Regions from separate parts of the Homo sapiens genome. Here all the other regions are linked to region 2. Evidence: promoter capture Hi-C in human tissues and cell types (Jung and others, 2019). All regions are on one chromosome and are shown on one strand. The core of a region is centred on a gene start or on the middle of the fragment in contact, and the rest is flanking DNA. Distances in the headings are between cores, read along the strand shown.

Region 1 (6,607 bases), core at 3,770-6,269, 43 kb after region 2:
CACAGGAAGGGGAGCATCACACACCAGGGCCTGTTGTGGGGTTGGGGAGGGCGGAGGGATAGCATTAGGAGATATACATAATGTTAAATGACGAGTTAATGGGTGCAGCACACCAACATGGCACATTTATACATATGTAACAAACCTGCACCTTGTGCCATGTACCCTAAAACTTAAAATATAATAAAAAAAAAGAAAAACAAACAAAAAAAAACTGTAGAAAAAAAAAAAAGATGATGTTTTCCATTTTGGACCTGTTAAGAATAATGCATTTATGGGACACGAATGGAAATAGTAGGTGCTCAATGAATATTAACTTCTTTCCCATCAAATAAGTTTCCCTTTTCTTCTGTGTTTAGGAAAGACAGAAGCTTAATTTGTAATTTTCTCCAGTTTAAATTCATAGGTTAGAGACCAATGTTTCTATTACTATTCCTCTCAGTAATAAAAAATATATAACACTGATTTTCAGATTATCAAAATTTTAAAGCCGTAATTAGGAACTAATGGAACAGATACTCCTATTTTTTCCAGGTCACCTGATGTCAACATTCTTGGGAATTTTTTTTTTAAAGAATACTTAAGAGATATCATTTCAGATTGTAAAGCTCATGTTTTTTACTGCCAGAAACCCAGATTTTAAATACCAGCTCTGTTAGCATGCTATAAAATTTTGGGCAGAATACTTTCAACAAATGGGCTAATAATAATTACCTTTCATAAATGTAATTAGAATGAAATAAAATCATATAAAATGCCAGACATAGTAAATGTGCCATAAAGGCTAGTTATTACCATAGGCCCTTACCTTCAATTATTACCTTATTAATTCTATATTTCATAGAGTAGTCTACACCAGCACTATCTAATAGGAATATAGTGCAGGCCACATACGTAATTTTAAATTTCTAGTAGCCATATTAAAAAAGTAAAAAGAAATAGGTCGAATTGATTTTAATGATATATTGAATTTAATCCAGTATATACAAAATATTATCTTGTTAACATGTAATCAATATAGTTACTAATAAGATATTTTGCATTTTTTTCCATTTGGCTCTGGCTCATGTGCCACTGTGACCCAGCAGCCATATATTAGGCTATTCTGTTTGGAATAGGTTTGGGATGAGGCAGAGAATAAATATGCATAATTGCATACCCTTATGGCAACCACAAATTGGGTAAGACAAGAACTAATGATGCTTGGAAGAAATGAAAATATATGAAATTATTACCTTTTTTCTGCCATATCTAATGGCAAATAGAAATTTTTTGGTGAAAAAATAGAAACAAATTTTTACTGGGCATCAACTATATGCTACATGCTATACATGTGAAGCCTATATTTGCGTCGAGGAACAAGGAAGCTGGAATCCTCAGACTCCAGTTACTGTCGCTATAGTTAGGACTTCCTTGAGACTTAGAATTTTAAGTCCTAAAGAGCGTCCCAGGGAATAGACAAGCATTGTGTCTAATTTATATTCTATTCCATGCTCTTCAGCCAGGAACATTATAACTCCATGTTTTCTCACTCTCCAAGGGGATGATCCAGGCCCTCAAATTATGGGGAATATGGAGAAGTAAGCATGGAGAATGTGTGTGGCCTTGAATGAAATGGGGATCAATTCATAAGCTGCATCTTTCATGCTCAGTGACTGGAGTGGGACACAGGCTGGCAATCAGGAGGCTGGCCAATAGCAAAGAATTCCACATCACCAGACTCCGTCCTTCCCACTCCTGATACTTTTGACATCTCCAGAGCGGTAGGCAATTCAGCCCTGCCATGTGTATCTTAGGTCAAAGGGAAAAAAACACAGAGCCTCAATGTGCGATTCCCAGCCTGAAAGGAACTAAGTGTCTTCTGATACACAACACTTGAGATTTTTTTTTTTTTTTTTAAATGAAGGCATTAAACTGACCTTCTTTTGAAATGGGCTAGACAGGGCAAACAAGGAGAGATCTTGTTTTTCCTTCATCCTGGAAAAATAACATTTCTCGCTTTCCAGCTCAGTACAGTTGACTGAATTGGAAAAGAATCTATTTTCTCTGGAAAGATTTATTTGCCCAACAGTTGTGTTTTTGTATATGTGTGTGTGTTGGCAAGATAGATAGATTTTCCAGAACAAGGGTCGTCTTGTTCACGGTTTAAAGGGGCCTAAGAGTTGACAAGGGAATTTAATGTTAGAGAAGGCTTTTGCAGACTTCAGCGTTATGTACAGATTCAGAAGCATCCTAAGTTGCCCTGGGCGCTAGGACAGGGAGGTGGTGGTGCTGAGGCAGTGACTGTGTGGCACTGCCCCACTTGCCAGAGAGCAGAGAGAAACATCTCTATCTCTTCACCTTTCTGAGTACAGTCTCAAGGCATGGGACCATCGGGATCTGTCAGGAAGCATCTATGTTTCTATTTTTCATATATAAAAATTGTTCCCAAAAAAAGTAAAATGATTTTTTAATAAAGCCATGTGGAAAAGCTAACAGTAGAATTTTCTCCTCTCCCTACAACCAGATTTCTTTTCCCACCTGGGGACACATGTTTTGGAATCAAGCAAAGAACAACATGTAAAGCCCTCTGTGGCTGAATTAGAGAAAACACTAATAGATATTGTTAGGAGTCCCTGTTTTCTACCTCCTCCTTTTTTCAGCTCCATAAAAGACTAGCATCACATAGGAAATTTTAGAGCAAATATATCCTACTTTATGGAAAATGGTTTTCACTACTTTTCATTTTCTCCCATTTCATTTCAAGCATTAATATAATATAAATTAAAATGGTATGTTTTGGGATATTTTCTCGAAAACATTTGTTTGAAGGTGAATTCAATCTACTCCTTGTCATATAACACCAAAATAAAATATATCTGAAGATGAGTTTCTTTCCCTTAATTTTTTTGTTTCCAAGTCACTACTTGCTAAGCTCAACTGACAGCTTGGCTGGATTTTGCACAAATGACTTTTCACTCAGCTGGTCTTTGCCTTGCCAGGCGTGGCTGGCCAATGTAAAGGAAAGGAAAGGAAAGGAAAGGTGTTTTTCCTTTTAGCATGAGCATTAAAACTTTTACCACATTTTCCATTGCCCGGTGTCTGTTTTCAAGAAAGCACAGGCCAGCAGAAACCAGAGGAGTCTGAGATTTCTCCTTTGTAAATGTTGGATCCCAGCCTCTTAGTGCATTTAATTTAGCAAAAATCCACATAATTAAATGAAAGGAAATATTTTTGTTTGATGGCAAATGGCTTCCCTGAGGAGAAGCCGTCATCTGATGGCATCCACTCTGAAGTGTTGCTGGAAGATCTTACTGCCCCCGGCCACCATCCTTCAGGACCAGGCTGTCTGCATTCCCAGGGCTGGTAGGACTAGGGCTGAACAGCTTTCTACTTTGTAAGTGTACACTTTCATAAAGCATTTTTAACTTTTATAAAAACATTTTGATTGCGTGCCAAAGTCCATGTATTTGGCAAAACTGGAAATTTAACTAATTCCTATTGTGTTCTTTCTTCCCCCAGTAGGAAGCTGGTTGGGACTGAATCTGGGCAGAATGGCTGTCGCACTTGCTTTGAAGTTACGAGCACAGCAGTACCAGAACAATCAGCAGGCATCTCCGAAAGTTTCCAGGGCAGGGTGCGGGCATTTTCTTCTCAGTCTATTCTCCAAATATCTACCCCAGGCCTGGTGTTAAACAAATATTAATTGGAAATGCTGATCATGAGATCAAAGGAATAGAGGAAAGAAAATGGCAGCTTGCTGCACATTAGCAAAACGTAAAACAGGGCAGACTTGGACCTAATTTTCAGTTACTGAAAATTGAAAATTATTCTCGCAGGGCTCCCAGACAAGTCAAGCTTTGAGCCTGTCTCTGCCATGGTCCCTTCTCTGAGTCGTCTCCAGTGGTGCCACCTAAAGTCTGCCCCTTTGTCCTTTGATCAGTGCTCTTTCTTTCCCACCCCCATAGTGCTGAGAGCCTTCCCAGGTAACCTCTTCTCTTGCCTCACTTTCTGTCTCCTCACCTCCAGTCAGTGGCCTCAAGGGTTGGAGAAAATTAAAAACAGCTTTCACACCAAGAAGCCCACAATCTCTACAATGGAATATTAGTTAAGGGTTAATGAATCCTGCACCCTGGGTTTCTGAACAAAGGACAAGAGGCAGTTGCCTTGAGTTGTAAGAGAGAGAATTAAAATGGGATGTTGAAACTTGCTATGTAACTGTCAAGGTTGGTTAATCTCAGAGATGCATTACTTATTCCAGTTGTGGACAATCTTTATGCCATCTAAGAAAACAGACTATCTCAGCAGCTGGCTTCAGAATTTCTCCTACCTTGATGAGCCAGCCTGATGCAAAGAGTTGAGCAAAAAAGCCTAAGGAAAGTTATGGAAGGAAAAGATAGGACAAAGACAGGGTTGACTTGCTGTGCATAAAAAAAGGAAAGTGTACTATTTTTTTACTCGTGAGAATCTGGGTAGAAGAGTGGGGAGATTGTTGAACCACGTGGTACAGGCCCCAGTTGATGGAAAAAAATTATATAACATCAATTTTAAATTGTTTTAATTTGTTGGAATTGGTATCATATAAACTCCTTTATTTATCCAAGTCTTCAGCAAAGGATCTAAAGTATATATAAATTACAAAACAGAACAGATAAAGACGTGTGTGTGTGTGTGTGTGTGTGTGTGTGTGTGTAAATTAAGGGAAGGGATTGGATTTTTGACATCCAGATCCACATGTTAGAGAAAGCCCACAGTGGACAACGTGGGGATACACATATTTATACATAGATTTAATATTTCTGTGGAAAGAATTGGAACTTGACCGGCAGCATATAAAGCTACACCTTCCCTCTCCATCTAGAATCCAGGAGGAGAAAGGGGTGCAAGCATCCCTCAGATGGGAATATGAGGCAATTCATTTGAAACTCAAAGGACAGATTTTGGTTTTCTCTGAGACTTTGGTTAAATTAAGAGGACATTTAGCAGAGAAGGGGAAGGTGCCTGGGCAGCCATTTATCTGACTTGGTTTGAATCTAGTATTATTCTTGGGAAAAGAGGCTATACTAATAGAATTATTAAACTTCTGTCCAGCACTTTGACTATATTAAAAGAGAAGTTGGCTTTCTCTCACAAAAATTTATGAATCACAGACATATGGAATCACCCAAAAATGTTAATGTTAGGAACCTACATTTGGCAAGGGTCGTAGAGCTACGAATTCAGCCTCTGGAACCAACTGCATGAACTTGACCCCACTTACTTGTGTGTGGGGTCAAGTTCCTTAATCTCTCTATGTCCCAGTTTCTTCTTCTGTAAAATGAGAATAATCATAGTTTCTAGCTCACAAGGTCCTTGAGAAGATTAAGTAAATGTGCAAAAAGCATTTAGAATAGTTCTAGCACATTCAGAATCTGAATTATTACTCTCTTACCTTCCTACAAGAATCTGGGAAGGGGCCTGTATGCTAAGAAATGTAAGCACATTATCTCAATCCTCCCAACAATTAATTTTCTTAACAGTGGGGGCGTTATTAATCCTGTTTTTTTTAACTAAGACCTGAGACCAAGGAAAATAAGTAACTTGCCTAAGGTCACACAACTGGCTAGAAGCAGATGCCTTTGTAGGCCACTGGTTATGTAATTTACACAATAAAATTAGACTTACTGATTAAAGCCCACACAGGGAATAGTGCAATGTCTTTTACAGTATTTAAATAGAAAAGGAAAACCAAACAGGAAATGGCTATGCTAAGTGCATTAGCTCAGCGACATACCATTTTAAATGGGCAAGTGTGAAATGAAATGAAACGGTTACAGTTAATCTCTGAGCAGAAAGTCCACAGAGTAAGTAGTGTAATCGAGCTGACACATCTGAGGAAGCCTGCATATCTCTCAATTTGTGGTCTGTTACTGCTTGAACTTTTCAAAATAATATTAAGGGTGGATGTAGCCAACATCTCAAATATTAAATATATTTGTATTAGTTGAAAGAGAAACAACTTTTCTTCTTAAAGCTATGTTTAAAGCAAAAGTTCCTTTTTTTTTCTTAACCACTTTGAGCAAGCCTGGTTTACTGGAAGTCAGCTTCGATGTCCCCCTTGTGGTTTACAGGCTGCTGTTGGTAACAATTCTACGGGTGGGTGGGGAGGTGGGAGAGAATGCTCTTCACTGAGTACCTCCTGTTGTCACCACCGTGCTAGACATTTGGCATCCATCCTCTTTCCCAATCCCCACAGCCAACTTCTGCTGACGTGGTTTAGCACAGAGCCCTGTTCCAGGTGCATAGGAGATCTTGCTGCTGAGCAAGTGTAGAAAACAGTACATGATTAACACTGAAGGCACAGTTAGAACATGATCAGGCCAAAATCTTTTCCTCTCTTGTTTTTCTCTGGAAGAGTAGGGAGCCAGACTACATAGCCTAGAGCTTCCCAGCTCGTGTTCCCCACAGGGATGAGTTACAGGTGTATGGAGAGAAAAATGTCTCTCACCCCTCAGGGTGGCTGGGCCAGGCTTGTAACCACCCAGTCCCCAAGGGCCAATGGCCTCCATCCATTACTCCAGTGTGCCTTACAGATACACCATGTGGGTCCTGTGAGCGCACACACTGCCAGGGGAAATGGCATCATTTG
Region 2 (6,331 bases), core at 959-3,458:
TAAACCCTGGAGTCTGAAGGCCTGAGGACAAGGAGCTCTGATGTCCGAGGGCAGAAGATGGATGTCCCAGCTGCGGAAGAGTGGAATCTGAATTGTGGCCCTCAAAGACCCACTGGAGGGCAGACACTGGCAGGCTGTGGGAGAAGCTGAGGATAGGGTGAGTGAAACTCCACACGTGACCTTGGACAAGTGCCTAAACTTTCTGTGCCTCTGTGTGTACATCTGCAAAGTGAAGTGGTGGACTTTGTGAGCCCCAAGGTTCCTCATGCATTCTAGAATTGCAGCACTTTCTGAGGGATTGTAAGAGGAAAGAAGCAGTTACAGAAACACAATTTTGAAATGCTAGGTCTTTGGTATTTGAAGCCAAGGAAATGGCTAGGGGTCTCTGAAAAAAAAATAGTATTATGAATAAGATGGAACCAGACAGCACCCTAAAAGTTTGTGACAAAGGAAGTCTCAATCCTCACATCAGAAGCAAACTTCTCACTGTATACCTTTACATTTTATAAAACATGGTCACATGGAACAATAGCTTGCAGACTGGGAAGCACTTGAACATAATAGTGTTTCATTTGATCCTCGTACACTCTTGGGAGATAGAAAGCATTATTTTTACTCTCTCTATTTTATGAACAAAGAAAATCAGTTTCCAAGTAGTTAAGGTCACAGAGCTGAGTATTGGGCTCTGTTCTTATGGATTTCTGTACCCTCCATAGAGAATGGGGTCAGTGGGGTCTTATCCTTGAGCAGCCGTGTCAGAAGTGGGAGCCCTGGGCATAGAGCCTTAGGGACTTATGGAACATACTGTGTCCTCACTAGGCTGGAGCAGGGACTATGGTTGTGGATGCCATAATTGGTCTGCTTTGGAAAGGGCTTCCTTTATCTCCACCAAAGAGATATCACCAAAGATCTGGGGGCAGCTTGGCCAGTCTATGTGCTGACTCTCTGCTGGAGCTGTCTCCTAATCAGGTCACTGCTAGAGTTCCTCTTCCTAAATGTCCCAGTGCCATGACTTTGGTGCTCTAGCTTGTGGGATTGAATCAATCTAAGAGTCCAGAGTCTATGAGGACTCCTTCTTCTCTATTGTATGCTGCTGTCTGAAGCTAAATGCTATTGTACAAGTTTTGTTGCTGTTTAGATTTTTTTTTGTTCCCAGATTATTGTTCCAAAAATAGACCTACGATATATTCTTATACATTTGAATTTAATTAAGAACCTTTTTCTCAATGACATAAATATGGTTTTACTATTTCCAGCCAGGCCAGACAAAGATGCCTGAAGACAGATTTCTAAATGATGCTATGTGCCAATTTCTCTGATCTTTTTAATATTGTAACTAAGGGGCCTTGCTCTGAGATGGTGGTTTACGATTTTGACATGCTGTCCTGTACCACTCTCTGATCACAAGGGAATACGTAGAAACTCACCAAAGCAACTGCTGTCAGTCATCAAAGTGGAGCCACATTGTCCCTTCTAACCTCATAAGGATCCTTATGGGATTCAGGATGATCACATTTTCAGTGCTCTAAGGACTGTCTCCGTATGACCCCAGCCATACCATGCCCATTACTGATGTATTTGACCTGTTGAGCCTCCAACAGCATTGCAGACTCCACTTTTTGTGTTCCAACAGGACTAAGGCCAGAAGCGAATGTCCTATTTTTTCCTGCCATTTCTCTGCTGAGCAACAGTTCACCCTTGAAGCTGCTGCTGCCTAAAGAACAGGAGAAGATTCAGGAATGCTAACAATAGTTACCTACATATCGCATGCCCTCTGCCCTTGCCCATTGTAAGAGCCTCACCACTTGGATCAGTAAGAGTCCACACTTGCTCAGTACATCTTGGTGCTCACTTCAGCTGTGGGCTCTGATTTAAACATCCAGCTCAGGGGATGCCTCTTTGGTGCATGTCATAATCAGGAGAAGAATGCTGGCTTTGGATTCTGGAACTGACTCCATTTGTAGTGAAGAGTTTGGAGAGCATCAATAATGGGATGGCAACATTCATTCATTCATTTATACCTCTAACCAGTCTTTCCTCACATACTGGTTGAGTACTCAATACGTGCCCTGTGCTTAGCTGAGTACTGTTCAATGGTGAACAAAGAAGACATGGTCTTAACTAGAAGTTCCTATTTCAACAGAGTAGCCCAAGGAACTTCAACCACTTTTGCTACAGGTGTATTAGTTACTGCCAAGAGTCTGTAAGTGTTCATGGGCCTCATTAAGCTCTGCCTTCCTTCTGCTTTTTGGAGCCTGGCCTTTGGTTGGCCTTGAATGAAGAGTGGGGCCCCAAAAGTACCACTGTCAGCACTCTCCAGGTGAGTATTATCCTGGGAGAGGCCAGGGCATGAGGAGGGCCAGGGCGTGGGGCCCTCTGAAGGCTGTGTCATCCCAGGCTTCAGCCACAGAGGTTTTATTACGGAGGAAAGCTGAGCTGTGAGCACGTTGCTAGGCTGTGGCTATTTATTTTTATAAACGAGCCTTGTGCTTAATTTAGAAACCTGCTTTTTCTTTTTCTTTCTTCTTTCCAGCATCATCTGGCTGTCTGGCACCATCAAAGAATTGCATTTCTGACCCAAGAAGAGCTTATGGGTGGATGGGGGTGGGATGGAAGCTGGGGAGAGGATTGATGCCAGCCAGCTGCCTCACAGGGTGCTGGAAACACGTGGCCATGCCATTAGCATCCTGTTCGGCTTCTGGACGAGTTTCATCTGTGACACCTACATAGTCCTCGCTTGGATCAGCAAGATAAAAGGCAGCCCTGATGTTAGTGCCTCCTCTGATGAGCCATACGCCAGAATCCAGCAGAGCAGAAGGCAATGCCACGCAGAAGAGGACCAAAGTCAGGTGCCAGAAGCAGGTGACATCTCCACTCTCAGTTCTTTGGAGGCAGCTATTTTAATAGAACCACTTTACTGCAGCTATTTTGACATGAGGATATTTTGGTATGGCTCAAAGATTCAGCCGATAAATGTTCAGCTTTTTAAAAAATAAATGATGAGTAAAATAGGCATCTTGCAGGCCATCTGTGAGCTTCACCTCAACCTTGATCTTCACCTCCCCCCCTCCATTGTCAATCTTACCTCCAGGCATCAAGGGTGTATGGATTGGTAACAGATGAAGGAAAGGACTGGTAGAGGTTCAAAATGAAAGAAATAGCAGGTCAGGACTCCAGGAGGGTTGAGGGTCTTTTAAAGTAAAACAAAACAAACAAACAAACAAAAAAACAGGGTCAACCAAATTCAGAAGTCAGGTAGAAGTCAGAGAAGGAATGAAAGATGGGAAACTGGTTATAAACCAAATACAGCGAGTCTGAATTTTGGCTTGTTTTGAGGCTGCTGTATCAAAACAGTTGTGTTGGAAGAGCTGCATGAAATTGTTGGGCAAGAAATAGTCCACTCATGATTCAGATAAGCTCATTTTGCCTCTTCCATGGTCGATTTCTGACTCATAAATGTCTATACATTTCACTTTACGGCTTATGTGAGCCTCAGTTTCCCCACATAAAATGCAGATGATGATGTTGGCCCTTCCTCTTTCCCCACCTTTTGCTCTCCTTCCAAGTGGCATGATGAGGAATGAGCCAGCATCTTGTAAACTGCTCCAGGCCACCTGGAGAAATGTGCTTGCGTAAATAGTCGGCATTAGTATACGTGAGTCTTCCATGAGTAAAGAATTTCAGAGTTGGCAGCCGTCTCTGCCTGGTGATTCATGTGGGCACGATGATGCCCTTAGCTACAATGTATGGTGTGGGTGATGAATTTGTTCTTGTCACAGCAGAGGACTGAGTATTCTTTACCCAAATGCTATAGATTGAGTTTGCACATGGGAACTAGATTAGCTCTGAAGAGAGTTGAAAGGAACCTGACATTTCTGCCTACAATCTAGAGTTTCATTGTACAAACAACCGCAGCAGCACATTTGTGCCCAACCATTGGCTCCCTTTGCCAGCAAAGAAAATCTTCTAAATTCTTCTGCCATTTGTCAAACCTGCCAAAGTCCCTGGAGGCAGTTCTGGTATAATTGAAGGTGGAGAAAGATAATATTCTCTCTACCAGGTTTCACTACTTCCTGTGTTGGTTGTTCACAAGGGGAGAGCTTCTGCATCACAGGATGAAGCTTCGGTGATTTAGATGTGGAATATCCTTCCAGGATTAGGGCAAGGAGGCCCCAGCTTCCAGAACCCTGTCCTGCAGCCTCCGCGTGGCTGGGCAGCGGCCTTCCTTTGAGCCTTCAGGGTGGAAACGAAGGACACGTGCGTCTCTGCAGCACTTCCGGCTTTCGCTCAATCCTATTTTCAGAGCCAAAGCGCCATCTCCTCTGGTACAGTTAATCTTTGTTCCTGCCACTGACCCTTCTATCTTTATTACTTTTCACCACGTCCTGGCCTTCAGATTTCTTATGGATTTGTCTCTCAGGCGTTGTGTTTTGATTCCCTCCTCACATTTACTTCCAAGTGCCAAGAACAACTTTGTTCCGGCAGAAGGATATTATTTGGCTTAAAAAGAAGAATGAGCAGTGGCTTCTCTCCATCAGCATTCTTTAGGTTTACGTGGGAATTCATTCTGGGAACCATTTAGAGTCTCCTTCAAGCCTCTCCCTGACCGACAAAGTTTCTGTCCCAGAGAGTTACTTTGCTTCCATTGTTTCTAAGTGGATGATAAGAACCTTTCTTTCTGAGCCTGTGTAGAAGGACTCAACACCCCTCCCCTCAATACTCCCCAGAGTATCCATTGGCTGGGCCCACAATGGATACACCCTGAGTATTGTTACCATTGTTATAGACTTCAGCATCAACTCCAGTATTTGGTGGTCCAATAAACCTTGAGTCCTCTTCAAGAATTGTTAGTTTTTCCCACCTTTGAGAACCACACTCACCCTTTAAGGCAGCTCTTCCTAAGTGACTGACAAACACTCCCTGGTTGAGCTGGTGGGGGCAGGTCCAGCCAACAATGGCTTCTCTGTTGACATCACACAGGCCTTAATGACACAGACTAGTCACAACAGCTGGTGCCCTCATGAGTGCCTATTAATATTTTGGGTAAGTTGTATTGCCCCATCCACCACTCTGTATAGTGATTCTGGAATTTGCTATTTGATACAAGCAAACGAAGAGATGGAAGGGGCTGTTCACCACTCAGTCTGCAAGCAAGCCTGTCGTGCCCATCTGCCAAGAGGAGTCCTTGTGTGCCTCCAAAATGGCCTGGTCCTTAACTTGATCTGCTTGGACTGATTGCAAACAGTGGCTTAGCTTCCTCTAGACCAGAGGACATTCTGTGCTCCCAAAACAGAATGCTACACATGGGAACAAGGGAAAGGGAGGCTTTGAGAGGTCAGCCAGCAAGGCCCCTGCTTCAAGCCTAAAACCAACGTAATTAGGTGAAGATTGAGCAGGATAAGGCTTTGCAAGGAACATCCCTGCCACGTCAAGGTGATCCCAGGTACGTGAATTGGCTCCTTTTGAGTCTTCCTACAACTCTTGGAGGCAAATAGGGCGGGTATTATTACTCTAGTTCTACCAAGGGAGAAACTAAGTTCTAGAAGTCAACTAAGGAAGTTATGTAACTTACTGGCGGACAGGACACAAGAAACCTCAAATTCCTGACATCTGTTCCAGTTTTTCCCATCACCCCATGTTGCCCTTCAGCAGGGCTTAAGCAAAACAGCCAACGCAAGTCCTAGCCTTTCCAGCTGGGCTGAAGTTAGAAACTGGCATGGATTTACAATGGAGTAGCTGGGGCCTGGGAGGCTACAGATAACTGCTTCTACTTGCTCGTATTGCAAGGCAAGGCTATATGGCTCAGCAGGGCTGAAACTATTTGGAGACTCGATTTTTACATGGTCATGGTGAGGGGGAGTGCAAATGAGAAAAAGGTACAACAATTTGCATTTGTGTGTGTGTGTGTGTGTGTATGCACATGTGCACATGTTTGGGCACACAGATGAGAAGACATTACTGTCATGATGGCTGTTGCAAGTGGATGGAGCATGTTCCCTTGCAGGTCATCTGCAGCTTCATGGACACACTGTAGCTTCTTACCTAAAGCTTCCACATCTCTGCCTGATGGCTCTCTCTGGCCACAGAAATTTGTTAAGCCCCATGCATGGGGAAGCCCAGAAGAGCATCAGAGTTAAAGGGGCCTGGAGCAACCCTTAACCAATGAAGGATGGAGCTTGTTAAAAAAAAAAAGTCTCCGTTTTTTTATACCCCCTGCCAACAGGAAAATCGAGGTGTTTTCCACTGAGCCTTTGAGAGGGACTCCAGAGGAAGTAAAACCCAAGTGCTCTGTGCAGCATCCTGCTCATGTACACCCCCTTTATTGGCTAAC
Region 3 (6,418 bases), core at 1,029-3,528, 37 kb before region 2:
TGGGTCTTCCCCAAACTGCCGAACAAGTTGAATGAGTGTATTTGTGCTTCCTTGCCAATATGCATCTATATGTCATATGGAGTTCAATTAGACATTTTTGAGGTCATAGGGAAGGGATTTATAGTTCCCCAGAAGTCTCTAACCTCAAGAGGTTAATAGTAGTTGTAAAAAGAACCTGAAATTTTCTGAAAGGCTGAATTTGCTTAAGTCAGAAAGCAGCACTGTCTGTTTCTCCCCCAAGACTATAAACTCCTTTAAAGGTAGGGATCATGATATTTTAGCTTCTTTCAAATGCCTAGTATTTGTACTAGCTTTGTACAAAAGTAAATATAGGAAGCAGATATGTTTACTGACTAAAAGTGTGGGATTTGGAATAAAATTTCCTATGTTCTAACCCTGGCTTTTGCATACAGTGAGAGACTTTGGGGAACTTACTTAAGCTCACTATGCCTCAGTTTCCTCCTCTGTAGAATGTGAGTGGTAACAACAGTACCCACTTCATAGAGTCATTGTGGATATTAATAGATATGTAGAGCTCAGAACAGCATGTGACCTTCAATAAAGGTTAGTTATTCTCAATAAGTAGGTGTAAAATGTTTGTTATGTAAATGAATAGTAGTAATATAGAGTTCTGGCAATTGCTCAAGAGCTCTGTTCGGGCCAGCTATTATTGTGCAATTAGTTGCCATAAATCTGTTACCACTTCCAAGATATGTATCCCTGTCAAGAAATCCACCTGCACCTCACACTAAGCCACCGCTGGCAGGGTTGGAAGGAATCTGCACAGCCAGCCTCTCTGTCTCTGGTTCCTGCTTCTCACAAGACAGCAGAATGCTTTCTGGGAAGGCCACCAGGAATCCAATCCCAACTCATTCATAATGGGTCCTATTTTTTCCTCACCAAGTGACCTCCCCACCAGGATGTTGGTGATGACAATGGGTAGACATTCTTCTTTGCTCCATTGCATCTCATTACTTAACTCTCCTCCTTCCCCAGCTATGCTAAGTGATGCCCAGAATGTGAACCTGAATTTGGTTTCTGTCAACTCTTGGAAGAGGCTTTTCACATTAGAACTGGGTTTGGCAATGCTTCTGTGGTTAGGCTAACATGTGGTGTGCTTGTATAGTTTGCAGCATCATATGGGTTTGTACACGTCCAGAAGCACCAGCACATGCACACAGGATCCACATGGAGTGGTGTACATACCCTATTGCACGTACACACGTTCACACCCCTTCTCTTCTTCACACAGTGTTCAGACTTATCCTGAAAAGACCTGACATAGCGACCAAGGTGTGGGGCCTTGGAGCGCAATCCACTTTAATTCATTCATCCTGTTGCTTCACACTGTTTTGAAGACCCAGGGCCCCTACCCTGATGTTTATTCTCTTCCTGTCACCCACTTGGCTCCCATCCTTTCCTCCTCCACCCCTGGGGAGGTTCTGCCCTGCGGTACAAGGCTGGGGTGTGTGTGTGTGTGCTCAGTGTGATGACTCGCTCTAAATGCAGCCTTCAGGCCCTTTGTGTCCCACCAGGAGGGTGTCAGGGCATGGTCCTCCCATGCTGACAGTCCACCCATTAGCCCTGGGCTGTGATGGTGAGGATAGGTATAGGGGAAGGAACATTCCAGACTTGAGGGCTGAGATTCTATCTTCTCAGGGCTGACTTCTTTACTCTGGTTGCTGCTTGTCTTAGGAGACCGTGCCCCTAAAACCCCTAAGCATTTAGAGGCTGCTGCCTCCCATATCCTGGAAATAGTCCAGCTTGTTAGGCAAATCCCTGAGATGGCTGGTGTTGCATGCCGAGAGAGCAAATAGAAGCATGGTCTCCATGAGGAGGAGGAAAGGTATCTCCTCCTTGTCTAAGATGGTGACAACATGGCCTTCACACACAGAGGAGGCAATTTAACAGTTGGTGTCTATGGCTACTTCAGTGTGTCTCTATAAATAGAGAGCTTTCCAGAAAAACCTTCCTAGTGAATTTTCTTATCAGTCCCTTAAATAGTGTTGACTGAGAGGGAGAAGCAAGGCTATATTAGCTTTTCACCAGTAAGTGAAAGGCATGGCTGATAAATGAGGCAAGGGAGATGTTAGTGAGGTTGAGTAGGTGAACTCTCCACCAGAGAGCAATGAGGGATATTGTTTAAGAGCTGTGGACTCTTTCATCTTGCATGTATATTTTTCCCCAACTAATTATGCACTGGCTTTGGCAAAGAGAATGGATAATTCAGGTAAGACATGTTTGTATTCTGGTTGTCAAGGAGACAGGGAATCCATTTGCTTAGCTTAATGCACAGGTACACTTAGTAAGCACACCCAGCATTTAGATTTCTGGACTTTTACCAAATCTCTACATCTCTGCCCCAAATCTATCTTGAGTTTAGTCATTGTGGCATATTCTCTTCATGTTTCTCTTATCTCTATCACTCCCTCAGCCTATGAAACTGCTGACATAAAATGAAATCCTTTGTGGTGAGAGAGTTTCAGCCAGCAGGAGACTCTGCCCAATGTTGGCAAGCCCCTAGAATGACAGACAGCAAAGAGAACATCTACAGCTCAGCTCCCAGCACCCTTTCCTCAGCCCACAGATCAGCTGGTTCAAAGGACAAGTGACTTACATGGAGTGATGTGGTTGTAAAAGGCTGGAGGGAAAGGGGCTTGGAGCCAGAGGGGAACATGCTGGACTTGAGGGCAAGAAGGCTGAATCATAGATGTTGTTTGGATAAGACAACATTGAGTGTTGTCAAATGCAGGTCAGAAAGTGACAAATGTGGAATTCTGACTAGGAAGGGAGAGAGGATGAGATGTGAGGAAACATGGCAGCAAAGTGTCTTGGATCCAGGTGCTGAGATGACAAGGTTTGCCTGGCAGGATGGTGGGAAAAGTTATGGGACCAGCTAGGTGAGCCTGGCCAGCTGTTCTGTTTCTCCTGGGATCTCTTGTGGAGACTGTTTTGCTTCAGTCAATGGGTAAACTACTACAGAGCCATAACTAGACTCCTTGTGAGTGTTCCCCAGGCCTCATTAGCCTTAGACCCAAGTGAGACGGACGACTGCAGACCAGATTTTGCTTGCCCAGCTGCATGCCCCTGTGGGACTTTGGTCCTCCCTTCACAATACGAGCCCCTCCCCGCCCCAGTATCTCTGAGAGTTCCAAGGCTCTGTCTCCTGTGCTCAGTGGTCAGCTCGGCTGTATAGCCACTGCATCCTAACTTTGTGGTCTGCTCTTTTAAAGGGTCTCACACGAAGTTGCTTGGACTACAGAAGTTTTGTGGATCAGGTTTGAGTTACATGTAATCCTTTCTCTTCAGGACACACTCAGCCATCACCAAAATGGATAGTTAGGAGGAAGCCCAACAAAAGCCACACCTCTCTCTCTCCCATTATCTTCCTTCTCTGGGATCCAACCTCCTTAAGGAGACACACCATTTTCATTTCTTCCAGTTGGCCTTCTTTTGTCTTCTCCTCCCCCATTACAGTTCACCAGTTGAGGAGGCACGTTCAGCAAATATATTGTTGCAGATGAATAAATCAACAAATACAGATATATTCTGAAAATTTGGCATAAATGAGAGGAGCAGATGAAGCGTCAGGCACAGAAAGCCCCCCAGGAGAGGTAAGTCGGGTCAGACGGAGAAGGCTCTGAGGGCTGATGTTATTGGAGATGGGGAAGGTAGATGACCTAGGTGCTTCCATAGCAACCTGGGCTTTCCTCTGAATCACCTGCCATAGTGATGGGACTTTGTTATTGCTCTTTCAGCTGTCTTGCACTAATCTAGGAGCATCAGAGACTGAAGTTTTAATCTCTGTATTCCCAGAACCCAGCTCATTTCCTGATATGGGACAGGTGTTCAAAACACAGAAGAATAGCTCAGGAAAAGATCTGGAGGCAACACAGGCAAATCACAGGCCAGGGGCAGTCAACAACGCTGCTTGGTTTAGAGTGATAGATACATGTAGGGAAATGACAGTTAGCCTTGAGTGCTGAGATTTTACTCAACAATGAGTCAGAAGCCAAAATCAATCCTGGAGTGTGGATCTGACAACAGGGCTTGAGAATTAATTTTTAGGTGTTGTATGTGTTGTGGGGCACAGGGAGGGAGACAGGAAAAAAGAGGCTGTGGGTTGAGGAACCCACCAATGAGGTGCTGCAGGAAGTCAGTGTGAGACAAGGGAGGTCAGGGCTGGAGGGGTACTTAGGGGACTAAAAGGGAGGAGCAGAGGGTAGGGTGAATGAGCAGGAATGAAAGCTGGATTGTATGAAAGACTCAGAGAGTGGGTTTACTCACTTGCTCCTTCACCTTTCATTCATGCATCCACACCTGCCTTCTTCAGCATTGGGCTGTGCAAGTGCCTGGGTTCAGTGATCGTCTCTGCTGGCTGTAGGGCAGCAGTCAGAGGGGACATCACAGGCCTCCAGAGGGTGGCCATGCAGCACAGTGTGGACTCGAGATTCAGTCTGTGCTGGTTAACGTCCTGATTCTGCCTGTGTGGTCCTGGGCAATTTATTTAACTTCTTCAAAGCTCACTCTCCTCATCAGATAATGACCAACTCCATAGGGTTATATGGAGGACTGCCTGAGATAATGCGCTGAGCTAACAAACGCTAGCTATTACACGATAAAGGAATGTTTGTGAAACACCTGCTATGGGTTAGGCACTGTGATAGATGTCAGGATGCCGAGAGAGATAAGACCTCATCTTGTCCTCTAGCACCCCAAAGACAACCTTAGGGGACAGGGAGGGAAATTAGCAAACTACACTGTGTACTGTAATGTGGTAAATAATCTAATAGAAGGATGACATTCGTGCCATGAAATTCAGACAAAGGGATTAATGGGGCTTGGGGAATTCAGGCAGATGCCACAAAAGAAATAGTAATTGAACTGGGCTTTGAAAAGGAGTAGAAATTTGGAAGGTGAGTGGAGGGAGAAATCAAAAAGAATTTCAGATAAAAGGAACATCATGGACAAAAGGAACATCACAGACAAAAGGGACATCATGTACAAAACAGCAAAGGCTAAGGGCCCACCACTCTTGCAGGGTTTTCTTGGGGATGAGAAGAGGCACCACATGCAGGCGGCCGGGCCACAGGTACAGAGGAAGCAGCAACCAACCAGTGAACACTCATTTCCTCCCTCTCTTTGCTGAACTCCACCTATGTCATCTTTAGAAAGCTTATAGCTCAAACCCAGAAAATGAAGAAACATCTCAAAAAAGAGGAGAAAGAAAGCAGGGATCCTGTTCATATCCTTCGCCCACTTTTTGATGGTGGGGTTGTTTGTTTTTTTCTTGTAAATTTGTTTGAGTTCATTGTAGATTCTGGATATTAGCCCTTTGTCAGATGAGTAGGTTGCAAAAATTTTCTCCCATTCTGTAGGTTGCCTGTTCACTCTGATGGTAGTTTCTTTTGCTGTGCAGAAGCTCTTTAGTTTAATCAGATCCCATTTGTCAATTTTGGCTTTTGTTGCCATTGCTTTTGGTGTTTTAGACATGAAGTCCTTGCCCATGCCTATATGAACAGACACTTCTCAAAAGAAGATATTCATGCAGCCAAAAAGCACATGAAAAAATGTTCATCATCACTGGCCATCAGAGAAATGCAAATCAAAATCGCAGTGAGATACCATCTCACACCAGTTAGAATGGCGATCATTAAAAAGTCAGGAAACAACGGGTGCTGGAGAGGATGTGGAAAAATAGGAACACTTTTACACTGTTGGTGGGACTGTAAGCTAGTTCAACCATTGTGGAAGTCGGTGTGGCGATTCCTCAGGGATGTAGAACTAGAAATACCATTTGACCCAGCCATCCCATTACTGGGTATATACCCAAAGGATTATAAATTATGCTGCTATAAGGACACATGCACACATATATTTATTGCGGCACTATTCACAATAGCAAAGACTTGGAACCAACCCAAATGTCCAACAACAATAGACTGGATTAAGAAAATGTGGCAGATATACACCATGGTATACTATGCAGCCATAAAAAATGATGAGTTCATGTCCTTTGTAGGGACATGGATGAAGCTGGAAACCATCATTCTCAGCAAACTATCACAAGGGCAAAAAACCAAACACCGCATGTTCTCAGTCATAGGTGGGAATTGAACAATGAGAACACATGGACACAGGAAGGGGAACATCACACACCAGGGATGGTTGTGGGGTGGGGGTAGGGGGGAGGGATAGCATTAGGAGATATACCTAATGCTAAATGATGAGTTAATGGGTGCAGCACACCAACATGGCACATGTATACATATGTAACAAACCTGCACGTTGTGCACATGTACCCTAAAACTTAAAGTATAATAATAACAAAATAAAAGAAAAAAGAAAAAAAAAAAAGAAAGCAGGGATCCTAAGACCAGATTTTTGTAACCGTGATTAATGAGTGAATGAAGAGAGA
Region 4 (6,236 bases), core at 188-2,687, 60 kb after region 2:
AAACACAATAAATAAAATTTAAATTCAAGAAATTAATTAGGAGCAGACTGAACATAGCTGAAGAAAGAAATAATGAACTAGAATATAGGTCAGTAGAAAATATCTAGACTGAACCACAGAGAGGAAAAGAGAGTCAAACAAGATAAAAAGACAGTAAGAGATATTTAGGACATCGTAATGTCAGAAAGAGGAAAAAAGAAAGAATGGGTAGAAGCAATATTTGAATTCACAGTTATAAGAAACACTATGAATCCAATGATAGACAAATACAAATAAACTTCAGCAGCGTGCACAGTAATAAAATTGTTGAAAACCAAAGACAAAGATAAAATGTTAATAGCTAGAGGAAAAAGGACACATTATCTTTAAGAACAGTAAGGCTGACAGCTGAATTCTTAACCAAAATTATGGATGCAAAAGACAATGGTAGGTCATCCTAAACTGTAAAATATCCCTGCCAAAGTAAGATAATAAAAATACTGAAGCTGAAATTTTACTAATTTCTAATTCATTTTTTACTTTGTATATTTTTATTGTAAAATAAAAAAACACAAAGACAGAAACCACTCAAAACAAATGTATAGCTTAATAAATTATTTTAAGGCAGACACTCTTGTAACTGCCATAAAGAAATAGAACTTTTCCAGCCACTTGGAAATGTTCCTTGTGTGCTATCCTGATCACAATGCACCACCTTCCCTAGAAGCAACCTTTACACTTTTATTGTAATCTCTTTCTTGTGTTTATAGCTTTATTACCCACATATGCATCCCTAGACACTATAGTCTAGAATTGCCCATTAAAAAATGTTTGATATATAAATCTCTTTTAATCCACTGCACCTCCTTCTATTCCTTTCTTCTCCTCAGACTTTATCTGTTGAAAATCTAAGGCTGTTTGACCTATAGAATTTCCTGAAGTCTAGATTTCATTAATCTCATAATCATAGAATATAGCCCAACAAGTCCTCTGTTCTCTGTGTTTCCAGCAAAATTGTAGCTGGACCCACAGCCTTGAACACTGTATTTTCCGGAAGAATTTGTCACTAATGCCTGCTCTAAAGGAAATACACAAGGGAGTTTTTCAGGCAGAAGAAAAGTGATGCTAAATGACAGCAAAAAATTGTAGCAAAAAATGAATAGTAAAAGAAAGATAAATATGTAAGTAAATCTAAATAAATATTGACTGTATAAGCCAATACTACTAATAATAAAGGTTTTAAATTTTTAATATGTAGATTTAAAATACATGACAATGATAGCCTAAAAGGCAGAAAGAAGATAAAGTCAAAATGTTCAAATATGCTTCAATTGTACAGAAATTGATAAAAGTACAAATTTGTATTATACTTTAACCAAAGCAGAATGCATGTTGAATCTCTAACATAACCTTTGAAAGTATGTAAAAAGATTATTTATAACTGCCAAGATGTGAAAAAATGGCATAGCAAAACAAATTTGATTAACTCAAAAGAAAGTAAAGGAAAAAATGTAGAACAGATGAAACAAATTGGAAAAAATAACATAAAAAACCCCAAGGGTTTCAGCAATTATATTAAATGTAAATAATTCTTAACATTTATATTGTCAGACTGTATTAAAATGTAACAAGACCCAATAATGCAATGCTTACAAGAGAAGCATCTTGAATACAAGATACAGAAAAAAAAGTGAAATAATGGAGAGAGATACACCATACAAACCCTAACTAAAAGAAAGCTGCCATAGTTATACTAATATTAAAACAAAGTAAATTGCAAGTCAAGAAGGACCCTCTGTAAAAGTGAAAATCCACTAGGATGATCAAATAGGCTTAAATTTGTGTGTTTTATCGTGTAGCTTCAGAATGTATAAAAAAAGATACAATTAAAGCAGAAATAGGAAAATTCACAATCACAATGGAAGCTTTTAAACATATTTCTCACTGAAACTGGTAGAATAAACAAACAATGATTAAAAAAAAAAGTCAGACATAGTCCCCACCTATATTGAACTTACAATAGATTAAAGGATGAATGAATGTAAAATTGCACATTAGCTGTTTGCTCTGAAGTAAAGGAAGACAGTTTTATGACAATGAACATGGCTGGACTGAGGGAATCAAGAAAGGCCTTTCTGAGAGGGTGACACTTGATCTCAGCTCTGAAGGATGAATAATGGCTAATTAGGTGAATGGAAGAAGAAGTGTGAACCAAAGAGCATTAGACATTGGGCACATGTCATCCTCAAAGATGCTGTGGTTGGAAGTAAACATATGAGTTTGAAGAACTGGAAGGAGGTCCAAGTGACTAAAGCACAGTGGATCACAGTGTATGAAGAGAAGTAGCTCAAAGTCAAGCTGAAGACGTGGGTCAGGCCAGAACATTCAGAATTTTGTCAGTCATGTACAGATCTTGGACTTTATCCAGAAAGCAATATTACTATTGGATTTATGTTTGAAAAAGATTATTCTAGCTGTGGCATAAGAATAAATTGTAGAAGATCAGAGTTAACAGAGGAGGCTAGACAATCCAGCAGTTTTTACCAGTGATATAGTTTGGATATTTGTCCCCACCCAAATCTCATGTTGAATTGTAATCCCCAGCACTGGAGGTGGGGACCTGGTGGGAGATCATGGGGGCAGATGGATCATGGGGGCAGATCCCCCATGTCTTGGTACTGTCTTTGTAGTAGTGAGTTTTTGTGAGATCTGGTCATTTAAAAGTGTGTCACCTCCCCCGTACCTCTCTCTCTCTCCTGTTCTCACCATTTGATGTGCCTGCTCCCCTTTTGCCTTCTGCCATGATTGGATTGTTCCTGAGGCCTCCCCAGAAGCAGATGCTGCTATGTTTCCTGTAGAGCCTGCAGAACTGTGAGCTAATTAAACTTCTTTTCTTATGAATTACCCAGTCTCAGATACTTCTTTATAGCAGTGTAAGAATGACCTAACACAACCAGTGACTAGAGATGAAGGATGATAGTGATGACAGTGGAGATGGAGAGGAGTCAGAGTCAAGAGATATTTAAGGGGTAAAATCAACAGGCGTTGGTGAAGAATTCTACATGGTGGCTGAGGGCAAGGGAGTCATCAAGGATGTCTTTTTAGTTCTTTGGTTGTACAAGTGGGTTTAACAGTGATGCCATTCTCTAAGAAACACAGACCGGGTTTTGGAGGGAAAATAATAAATTCAGTTTTAGACATGTTGAGATTGAGGTTTTTCTTTTTTTTTTCTGTAAGGGATTGTTCTATAGGACATCTCTCAAGACACTTAATATATTTTCTCTTTGTGGTGTTTTTGGTTGGTTTTATTTGCTTGTTTTACTCCCTTCTGTCTGACATTTCAAAAATGCAATTGCAAGCCTTGACCGTGGATATTTATCATGTCACTGCATCAAAATATTGATGCTTGCCTAATGTGAACCTTCCCAGGGAGTAATGGAAACAAGAGAGAAGATGGAAAATGTGTCACTATCCCTAGGAGTGCTTGTGGGGTGCTGAACATTGACCCCAGTCAGAGTCTAAATGTGTCAGGGAATTTTCCTGGCTCTAGGTGTTAAAGGCCATTCAAGGAGGCAAGATTGTTTTCCTGGACGATGCCACACAAGGATGTTCAAGTCAAGTTTAGGAGAATTGGCTCTCAATGCACAGGGCCATTTCAATGAATTAGTAATGAGCTCTCCTTTCATTGAAAATTAATTCTGTCAAGGATATGAATCAGGTGTCATATGAAAACAGAGGCCAATCAGCTCTTCCAAAGCAATTTCTTGTTAGAACACCAGGGTGGGTGATGCCATTTCTTTTGTTCCGGCTGGTTGGGACCCTGTTGGCAGGTCATTTTGAAATTCTTTACATAAGAAAGAACACAGTCGGCCGGGCACAGTGGTTCATGCCTGTAATCCCAGCACTTTGGGAGGCTGAGGCGGGTGTATCACGAGGTCAGGAGTTCGCGACCAGCCTGACCAACATGGTGAAGCCCCATCTCTACTAAAAATACAAAAATTAGCCAGGCATGTGGTGCATGCCTGTAATCCCAGCTACTCGGGAGGCTGGGGCAGGAGAATTGCTTGAATCTCGGAGGTGGAGGTTGCAGTGAGCTGAGATTGCACCACTGCACTCCAGCCTGGGCAGCAGAGCAAGACTCCATCTCAAAAAAAAAAAAAAAGAACACAGTGAAGATGACAGCCTGAAGTGAAGTCTATTTATATCCAGAAAAAAAAGGCATATATTAATGATTATTTCTCTATTTTTTGGAATATTGACCAATAACTTTATGAGGATGTATCAGGCTTTTTTTGTTCAATACATTTTTCCTTCTTCTGTCTCATGTCACGTAATTCTTTCAGAATTTAAGTTATAAGAAATTGCATTTCTATTCATTAAGGTCTGATAAGAAAGTGTTATGGTATCTGATCTGAATGAGGATTGTAAGATTGTTTATGTGGTTAAAATTATGTGTTCTTCCTTAAAAGAGCTTGAATTTTAAGGTTTTGCCCTAAGTCATTATTATTGAGTCTACCTAAAGTTTCAACAGTTGCAGAACTGAAGAGAAGATCTGCTTCCTCACTTGGAATAGAGTCCTGAATTTTATAACTATATGAAGAATATAGTTGGAGACAAATGATTTACAACTATTTCGTAAGCAGTGGTAGATGTTCAGGAACTTATTTCTATGGTTTCTTATATTTCTGATGTGTTTGAGGATCATCCCTTAGAAGTCTATAAAGTATCAGGCTATATATATCTAGCCTAGAACTGGGTGGAACAATGAACCATGACTGCTTAATATCAATGCTGCTTAACATAAAAGCACCAACAAATTTTGAAGCAGGGAGGAACTTAAGCTATTGTGCTTAAGCCACTGCTCTCTGGTGGGCCAGTGATTTAGGATCCTGACTTATTTTAATCCTTCCACCTCCCATTATCTATAAGGAAGCAAAGGCACAGAGGGAAGTGTCCTGCCAAAAGTCACACAATTTGTATTTTAGAATTCACCTTCCTACAAGTTCTTCTTCAGAAAAAAAACTGAGTGTGTGAGCTAATCTTTATCTAACAGACTGATTTCACATATTACAAAGATAAAGTCTTGGATGATAGCACCAGACAGAACTATCCTTCATGAAGTTCCTCTTTGTGGGCTCTGGAAATTGGATGTGGGCTCTGTGAATTGGATGGCCATTTTTATTTCCTTTTTGTATTCTTGCAGACTCTGTCATAAAGAGGAAGCCATCAGGTTCTTGGATAATTGCTGAATGGAACTAAGGGAAATGAGAGGAGAGAAGCATCTCAGAGCATGTTTGGACTTGCTGCATGCCTTGGACCCTGCTACACACTGATAACTGAATATTGAGCCCTTGAGCTGATAAACAAGGGTCTTTGACTCGAGAGTGTTTTGCCATCCTGTTTGCAAGCTTTGTGTTTGTTTCCTTTCCTCCAAGAGTACATTTTCTTACTCCTCATATGGCCCCAAACCACACATTGAGAACTATGGCCTAGAGTTTGTGATTAATGGAACCCTATCTCCACTCCAACCTCCACTCATTAACCAATGATCTCTACTGGTGCCTGTCACATTTACAAATATGTGAGAGGCCTTAATTTAAATCTGGAACTAAGCTAGTGATTTCAATTACAATAGTCTGACTCATTCCGACATTATCATTGGGTAAAATAGCCTCAGTTTCCTTATCTGTAAAATGAATTCAATGTTGGCAACACTGGTCTTAAAGTAAAATAACTTTAAGAAAATTGCTGAAGGCTATGGCGTATGACTTAGTGTATTATTATTTTATAATGGAGAGTTTTACCTACCAAAGAAAGGAGTTATCAGCTGCCCGTTGCATTGCTGGTAATTTATTATTAATGATTTCTAAAAACTCTAACATTGCAGGAAGCTTCAAGCATCATTACTGCATTACATTTTGCTTTTGTGTTAATGGACAGCTATTTTTCACTGTCATTTTCATGAGTAGAAAGAGAGCACAGATGAACAATTTTAACAAATATAGGACAATAGAAGACATATTCCAGACTTCAGCATTTATTAATAGAATGATCAAATTCAGCCTTATCAGAATGGAGAACTTCCTGGTCACAGACAGTAATCTATATACCTCCTTCTCACCAGTGCCCTCACCTCGTTAACCCACTCAGAGGCAAGGGTCAGGAAACACTGCACTTAGTACTTTTGTGCTTAAAAAATTAAAGAATCCAAATTATCACTTTTTGCTTTCTACATAGTTGAGAAAAAAAAGTAATGT

What was found. Contacts are between HindIII fragments. The study calls those that stand out against the background at their distance.
Region 1: a contact is called between a fragment that was not itself captured here and the fragment with the promoter of SMIM2 in region 2, in 2 of the 25 tissues and cell types used here (spleen and thymus).
Region 3: a contact is called between a fragment that was not itself captured here and the fragment with the promoter of SMIM2 in region 2, in 1 of the 25 tissues and cell types used here (bladder).
Region 4: a contact is called between a fragment that was not itself captured here and the fragment with the promoter of SMIM2 in region 2, in 1 of the 25 tissues and cell types used here (aorta).

Annotation. Positions count from the first base shown.
Region 1 is chr13:44,116,660-44,123,266 of GRCh38, reverse strand. All of the region lies in intron 2 of LINC00390 (long intergenic non-protein coding RNA 390), which reads left to right. The region is part of intron 1 of SMIM2-AS1 (SMIM2 antisense RNA 1); the gene reads right to left. Among named protein-coding and RNA genes, the nearest start is that of SMIM2-AS1, 9.4 kb to the right of the region's middle. The HindIII fragment of the contact is 5,829 bases long and covers 2,105-6,607 here.
Region 2 is chr13:44,157,134-44,163,464 of GRCh38, reverse strand. It overlaps SMIM2 (small integral membrane protein 2), which reads left to right and starts at 2,208. Exons shown (of 3, transcript NR_197392.1): 1 at 2,208-2,320; 2 at 2,534-2,862. It overlaps SMIM2-IT1 (SMIM2 intronic transcript 1), which reads left to right and starts at 5,243. Exons shown (of 3, transcript NR_046843.1): 1 at 5,243-5,443. RefSeq lists an enhancer at 3,077-4,276. The HindIII fragment of the contact is 7,742 bases long and covers 1-5,085 here.
Region 3 is chr13:44,194,132-44,200,549 of GRCh38, reverse strand. It overlaps MIR8079 (microRNA 8079), which reads left to right and starts at 4,350; the gene lies at 4,350-4,421. The HindIII fragment of the contact is 9,857 bases long and covers 1-6,418 here.
Region 4 is chr13:44,096,021-44,102,256 of GRCh38, reverse strand. No RefSeq gene overlaps it. Among named protein-coding and RNA genes, the nearest start is that of SMIM2-AS1, 11 kb to the left of the region's middle. The HindIII fragment of the contact is 4,418 bases long and covers 1-3,646 here.